Regions from separate parts of the Homo sapiens genome. Here region 2 is linked to region 1. The links are contacts of gene promoters, found by promoter capture Hi-C in blood cells and fetal thymus (Javierre and others, 2016). All regions are on one chromosome and are shown on one strand. The core of a region is centred on a gene start or on the middle of the fragment in contact, and the rest is flanking DNA. Distances in the headings are between cores, read along the strand shown.

Region 1 (3,819 bases), core at 997-3,496:
ACTCCAGCGTGGGCAACAGAGCAAGACTCCGTTTCAAAAAAAAAGTAGGTCGGTCATGGGGTGGCTCATGCCTATAATCCCAGCATTTTGGGAGGCTGAGGTGGGAGGACCAGTTGAACCCAGCCTGGGCAACATAGCAAGATCTTGTCTCTACAAAAAATAAAGGAGGCAGGAGGATTGCTTGAGCCCGGGAGGTCAAGGCTGCAATAAGCACTGTTTGCCCCACTGCACCACCACCTGGATAACAGAGCAAGACCCTGCCTCAAAACGAATGTGTATAAATTAATTGACATTTTAAAATTAATTTTTGTAACCTTAATAAGGCTTTAAGGGTTACATCTATTAGTAGTACAGTTGTTCAAAACAACATAAATATATATTCAATTTTCTAATAAAAACTAAAATTTTATTGGAAATATACGTCATAAAAGAGAAAATTTCCTCCCCCCGTTAGTTCCTATATCTGTGGATAAATATCATTATTTTTTATTAGAATAAGACAAGGTACCGCGAATTTTGTACGTCTTTTTCTTTCCTTTTTAAATTTGTTTTTAAACTTTCCTCCTTACAGGGGATTTCCTTTAGCTGGGCATGGTGGCGGGCGCCTGTAATCCCAGCTACTCAGGAGGCTGAAGCAAGAGAATCACTTGAACCCTAAAGGCAGAGGTTGCAGTGAGCCGAGATAGTGCCACTGCACTACAGCCCGGGCGACAGAGTGAGACTCCATCTCAAAAATAAAATAAAATTAAAAAAAAAAGAGGATTTCTTGGCCAGATGCGGTGGCTCACGCCTGTAATCCCAACACTTTGGGAGGCCGAGGCTGGAAGATCATTTGAGGTCAGGAGTTCGACACCAGAATGGCCAACATGGTGAAACCCCATCTCTACTAAAAATACAAAAATTAGCTGGCTGTGGTGGTGCACCCCTGTAATCTCAGCTACTCGGGAGGCTGAAGCAGGAGAATCACTTGAACCTGGGAGGTGGAAAAATCATTTATCATTAAAAATTATATTTAGTGCCCAGAATGGTGGCTCAAGCCTGTAATCCCAGTACTTTAGGATGCTGATGTGGGAGGATCGCTTGAGCCCAGGAGTTCGAGATCAGCCTGGGCAACATGGAGAGATCTCATCTCTACAAATAATAATTTAAAAATAGCTAGGTGTGGTGGCAAATGTCTGTGGTTCCAGCTACTCCAGAGGCTAAAGTGGGGGAATCGTTTGAACCTAGGCAGTCCAGGCTACAGTGAGCCCTTATCACACCAGTGCACTCCAGCCTGGGTGACAGGGCAAGACCCTGTCTTTAAAAAAAAAAAAAAAAAGTATTTAATGTTATCATCCAACAATTCAATACAAACCTCCTTCAATTTTGATGAAAGCTGAGAATTGGAAATAATTTATATAAAGGTGTCATTTGGTCTCTGGCCCTTCCCCTTTTCCAACTCACAGGCACAGATACCTTTGGGGCTGGATTAGCATTTGCGTTGGGATCCACGGCGGGAAGGGTACAGGATGGGAACTGACAAAAACAGAGCCAAGCTGGTCGGGTCGGTGCCTACCCCAGAATTCGGGGACATTTCTAGATCCTGCAGGAAAGCGCGGGAGGGCCTGACTCAAGCTGGCCTGGCCCTGAGCGCATCTGCGCGCCCGAAGCCTGTCCCTGAGGCACGGAGAGAGCAGCTTTCGGGTTAAAAGGGCCCTGGGAAGAGATGGGGCGGGAAGGTGGTACCCGTTGGGCGCAGGCCAGGCTGCCAGGCCGCAGGGCTCTGTCCCGCGAAAGTCAGTAGGTCTTCCACTAAGGCAGAATTGTACTTTTACTCGACAGCGTGGAGAGGCCGCTCAGAACAGCAGCAGCGGAGGGGAAGTCAGCGCAGGTCACAGACGGTTTCACTCTCAGAGACTTGGCCTAGAACTTGGAGGCCCGCTGCTACAGCACGCTCGCCTCCAGGCCACCCACGCCCCCACCACCCGCACTGAGCCGTTATCTGCCTGACTGACATCTTGGCCAACCAATGACCTTTGGGGCTGCCAAAGCGCCTGCCTCCGAGAGTTGGGCGGGGCGAGTAGTTGCAATGACAAACATTTAACCCAATAGCGAGGAGATTTCAGACGCTACGGCCGCAATAACCAATGACAAGAAAGAATCCTTTCGAAAGGACGTGTCAGGCAACCAACGGCCGGTGCCGCTGCGGGGGTCCGGCGGCTTCCGTTCCGAGAGGGCGGGGCGGCGTCCCAAAACGGAAGGTGGTTGTCGTCCGTTCCCAAGCTGGTTTGAAACTAGGGGTCGGGCTCGGCCGTCGTCGTTGTTTGTCGCCGCATCCCCGCTTCCGGGTTAGGCCGTTCCTGCCCGCCCCCTCCTCTCCTCCCTTCGGACCCATAGATCTCAGGCTCGGCTCCCCGCCCGCCGCAGCCCACTGTTGACCCGGCCCGTACTGCGGCCCCGTGGCCACCATGTCCCTGCACGGCAAACGGAAGGAGATCTACAAGTATGAAGCGCCCTGGACAGTCTACGCGATGAACTGGAGTGTGCGGCCCGATAAGCGCTTTCGCTTGGCGCTGGGCAGCTTCGTGGAGGAGTACAACAACAAGGTGGGCCGGGCAGGGGCTCGGAACCCAGCTGGCGGGGAGCGGGCCCCGGGAGCGCCCTTTCCGGGCCGGAGCCCAGGCCTCAGAACCCTCTTGCGGACTCGCCCTAGGGCCACGGAGCGGTTCCTCTGTCTGGCCCTGTGCTGAAGGTTTCGTACTCGTTGTCTGTCTCCTTTAATCCAGGCAGCATTCTTGTGTAGTCGGCAGTGTAGTGGGGAAACTGAGGCACGGTTTTGTGACTTGCCTGGGTCAGGCAGCTATTTCGGGGTGGAAACAGGTCTTAAAACCGGGTTTACGCCCCAAAGATACTCCATTTATTCATCCCGTGCTCTCCACTCCTGCCGCATTGCTTTCGTTGGTGGGCGGGGAAGGGAAGAGAGAGTGATAGCTGTGAAGGAAAATGCAGGCGCTTCTATTGGTGGTCGTGCACTCCTGGCCACACTAGATTTCTATTAAGACGATCTATTGTACAAGCTTCCCCGCCCCCTACTCCCACCCCCCCCGGGTACTCATGGATCCTAGCCCTTCTGCCAGAATTACTGTTGCTCTTGCTTCCTGATATCCATTCTCTCTAAAGCAATCTCTTTGGAAATCTTGGCCTGTGGCATGATCCCGCCGTTGTTTCCTGAACACAGAAGGATGACAGGGCCTTATCTCTTGGCTTGTTTCGTGCTAGTACAGTTGTGTGACCTTTAGTAGTAAGTCTTGCTGGACATACATCAATTTGAGAATCCTTTATAGAAGCACGGTGTAGTAGGGGAGCTTTTAAACTGGCATTGCAACAAACTCATTTTTGAAAGTTGAATAAGTCAGTTGGAAGAATTTTCTTTCTTCCTTTTACTCAAAGTTGTGAATGATAGCGATCAGAGCAACTGAAAGCTGTGGCTAGTGATATTTAAAGCCACTACTCCTGCTTTATGCCATGAACATCAGATTTAAGAAGAGTAAAACTGGCCGGGCGCGGTGGCTCACGCCTGTAATCCCAGGACTTTGGGAGGCCGAGGCGGGCGGATTACCTGAGCTCAGGAGTTCGCGACCAGCCTGGGTAACACGGTGAAACCCCGTCTCTACTAAAATACAAAAAAAAAAAAAAAAAAAAAAAAAAAAAAAAAAAAAAAAGCCGGGCGTAGCTTAGTGCGCCTGTAGTCCCAGCTACTCGGAAGTCTGAGGCTGGAGAATTGCTTGAACCTGGGAGGCGGAGGTTGCAGTGAGCCGAGATGGCGCCACTGCACTCCAG
Region 2 (3,705 bases), core at 46-2,545, 280 kb after region 1:
CCCCTGGGCTAATCCACCCTGGGAACTGCTGTGGGTAAAAATCACCCAGAGCTTTACATAGGAGTCCCCTCGGGAAAGAGGACTACACCTTGAGGTCTCGGCGCTGGGAACGGAGCCATTCCTGGATGAAGTCCTGGGGGTCGGTGCTAAAACTGAGCATGAAATCTCTCTGGGTCTTCAGCTGGTTGATGGACTCAATGGTCTCATGGATCTGGAGAGGGTACCTGTGTCAGACTGTGCCCCCAAAGCTTACATGCAAGCAACTGAGCCAGAGTTCCCATCCCGTCCTCCAGGTGCTACATGTATGGAAATGCTGGACAGAGCCAGCCCACCCCAATCCTGGGCCCCAGAGGAAGCTGTGGAGCCAGAGGGCCCACCTTGACATCAAGGGAGGCGATCTCCTGCTGATTGGTGGTAGAGGCCAGAAAATTGCTCATTTGGGCCTTCAGTGGGTCGTCCACCTCCACATCGATGTCGTAACAGGCTGTCTTCTTCTGGTCGTTAGGGTCGACACTGCAGGCAGCACATGGGGAGGGAAGGCACATAGCTGACTTCATCCTGCCCACCTGGGCCAAATCTGGGGCCCATTCTCTGCACACACTCAGGGAAAAAGAAACCTGATGCTTTCTTTGGCTTTAGTTCAAGCCAAGGGTGAATCTGCTCTTAGAAGAGCCTTCCTGTCCCCCTCCTTGCATTTACCTAATGACATGGTTGATGACAATGGGGTCTGGATGCTGCAGCAACCCTGCCAGCTTCATGGGAATCTCGGAGAAACGGAGTCGGCCACAACTGAAGATCTGGAGGAAATACGAAAGGCTCAGCGTTGGCTTGTGGGCACAGTGGAGTGGACCATTCCAGGACCAGTGAGGGCAGCAGTCTGCAGGCTGTGGCCAAGGAGTAGCCCAGCAGGCAAGGCAAAGCAAGGGCTGAGAAAACGGGGGCTGGCATCTGGCTAACCTGGCGGAAGTAACGGTTGCAGTTGATGTACTCCCGCTCGTGCCCATCCTGCAGCTGGTTGTGCTTGATGTAAAGCCACAGGGCCTGCATGATGGCGGCCCTCGTCTGCGTGTGCACTCCCAGCAGCCTTGCCAATCGGGGGTCCAATTTGTACTGGGGAGGCTGGAGTTGGATGGAGGGGAGTCAGAACGGGTTCTTATAGTAGAACAGTGGGAAAATAGGGCAGGGACAGGAAGGGTTTCTAGGAACCAGCTCCCCTCCTGAGGGGTCCCTGTGGGCCCAGAAATGACCCCAGGGTCTCTGTCACCTGATGATCCAGCATGAGCAGGAGGGTGCACTTGACGTTGAGGTCTCCAGGCCGTTTTACTTGGAAGCCATCTGTCTCCTGGGTGGTGGGCATCCGGTGCCACTGGCAGGGAGGGAAGCATGGCTTATCACCAAGGGGGTGGGCGTGAACACAGGGCCTCCCAAGGGCCCTGAGGCCATTTCCCTGCCAAACCTGCACATCAGCCTGCTTTTGCCCCAGGCCCACTCTCACCTCCACCAGGTGATTGTCAGGCCCGTACAGCTCCTTGTCCAGCTCAATGACGAGGCTCTTAAAGAATGAAGAAAACTTCCTCTTCTGTTTGCTAGGCTGGGGATGGAAAGGGGTGTGAGATGGTGCTGCTGAGCTCTCAAATCTCAAGCTATGCTAAATCCCAAGAAAGAGAAGCCCCATTTCAGCCCTGGAGCTCCGGATACTGAAGATTCCTGGGCCCTGAAGGATGGAAGCAGGACTCTGGGCAGACTGGAGGCAGGGAAATGGTGCCCTCTTGCAGCCCACGAGGGACTTCCTCGAGACACTCGACTGCCATCTGCAGGAACACTGTAATAACCACACAAATCAACCTCCAACGGGCTTGGAGCAGCGCCCCCCTCCCTATGGCAGGACTTCTCTGGGAGCGCCCAAGTGTCTGGCCCAGTCTTTTTTTTTCTGAGACACAATCTCACTCTGTCACCCAGGCTGAAGTGCAGTGGTGTGATCATAACTCACTGAAGCTCGACCTCCTGGGCTCAAGCCATCCTCCTGCATCAGCCTTATGAGTAGCTGGGACTACAGGTGCATGCCACCGCACCCAGCTAATTTTTAAATTTTTTGTAGAGATGGGGTCTGGCTCTGCTGCTCAGGCTAGTATCAAACTCCTTGGTCTCAGTCTTAAACCCACACAGGCCTCCTTCCCTCCAGAACCTCCCTCCCCAACTCACATCATCCAGCAGTTTTCCTTCCACTCGGAGTTCCCAGGAAGCCACCTTGTCCCCTGCTGGGGTTCCCCCAGGGGTCCCTGCAGTTCCTGCACTATCGCCTTCCGCCTTGCTGGGACTGAACGTATTGGAAATGTAGATCCGAAGCTTTCGCTTTTGCTAAAGAGAGAAAGGCAATCACAACTGGAGGTGGACCAAGATGCTGGGACACAGTGCTACCGCATCTTCTCATATGAACCATTCAACAATCAGTACTGAGCACCATGAGCCAGCCAGGCACCTTGTCAGGTACTGGGAATCAGAAGTAGTAAGTCCCAGTCCCAGCCTTTTTTTTTTTTAGACATGGTCTCACTCTGTCACCCAGGCTGGAGTGCAGTGGCGCGATCTCAGCTCACTTGCAACCTCTGACTCCCAGGTTCAAGCGATTCTCTTGCCTCAGTCTCCCATGTAGCTGGGACTACAGGTGCGCACCACCATGCCCAGCTAATTTTTTGTGTTTTTGTAAAGATGGTATTTCAACATGTTGGCCATGCTGGTCTCAAACTCCTGACCTCAGGTGATCTGCCCACTTCGGCCTCCTAAAGTGCTGAGATTACAGGTGTGAGCCACCGCACCTGGCCGGAACTCACCATTTTATGGGGAAAGAGATGCATCACCAACAATGCCAGCACAGTGGGACTGGTGCTACGGCATGATGGAGTAACACGCAGCCAGTCTCTGGCTCACATCTTACATGAAACCCAAACACCCATCACGGCTCCAAAATATCCTAGTCCCCTGGAAAGGCTTCACCACTCGGGACTGTTCTACATTATTATTAAGAAAAGCTTCTCGGCTGGGTGCAGTGGCTCACGCCTGTAATCTCAGCACTTTGGGAGGCCGAGGCAGTCAGGAGTTCGAGACCAGCCTGGGTAACATGGCGATACTAAAAATACAAAAATTAGCCGGGCGTGGTGACAGGCATCTGTAATCCTAGTTACTCGGGAGGCTGAGGCAAGAAGAATTACTTGAACCTGGGATGCGAAGGTTGCAGTGAGCCGAGATCGCAACACTGCACTCCAGCTTAGGTGAAAGAGCGAGACTCCATCTCAGAAAAAAAAAAAAAAAAAAAAAAGAAAATTTCTCTATGGATGGGGAAGGGGAAGGAGAAAGGAACTACCTTTATCCCCTAGTCTAGTGGTTTTCAAACTTTTGACCACCACCCATAAGATTTACATTTTCAATTATGACCCAAGGTCTGCATATCTATTTATCAGAAACAAAAATGTCATGAAAGAATCCATTTACTACTATGGTAAGTACTACTGTGAAGTATTTTAAGATTTTCTACTGTCATATATTCATTTAAAACATACTGGCCCCAACACATTCAACTGAGTTCGTACTCTACTAGTGGGCTGCATCCTGCATGTGAAAAACCCGGCTCTAGCCCAACTTGCTTGGCCCCTGGAAAACAAGGGGGTGGAAGGCAAGGAAACCTGGGAAGGCTAGAGGTGGTCAGGGCCA

What was found. The method cuts DNA at HindIII sites, captures the fragments that hold promoters and counts their contacts. A CHiCAGO score of 5 or more calls a contact.
Region 2: a contact is called between a fragment that was not itself captured here and the fragment with the promoter of DCAF7 in region 1, in 1 of 17 cell types (neutrophils). The highest score is 5.8, in neutrophils.

Annotation. Positions count from the first base shown.
Region 1 is chr17:63,548,231-63,552,049 of GRCh38, forward strand. It overlaps DCAF7 (DDB1 and CUL4 associated factor 7), which reads left to right and starts at 2,247. Exons shown (of 7, transcript NM_005828.5): 1 at 2,247-2,585. The coding sequence starts at 2,448. It also overlaps a transcript of KCNH6 not described here. RefSeq lists enhancers at 1,177-2,161, 1,461-1,850, 2,291-2,370 and silencers at 2,521-2,570, 2,591-2,740. The HindIII fragment of the contact is 8,271 bases long and covers 1-3,054 here.
Region 2 is chr17:63,833,210-63,836,914 of GRCh38, forward strand. It overlaps SMARCD2 (SWI/SNF related BAF chromatin remodeling complex subunit D2), which reads right to left. Exons shown (of 13, transcript NM_001098426.2): 5 at 2,203-2,358; 6 at 1,496-1,591; 7 at 1,265-1,366; 8 at 958-1,119; 9 at 700-797; 10 at 378-513; 11 at 89-211. Among named protein-coding and RNA genes, the nearest start is that of FTSJ3, 7.4 kb to the left of the region's middle. RefSeq lists an enhancer at 1,834-1,993. The HindIII fragment of the contact is 2,098 bases long and covers 247-2,344 here.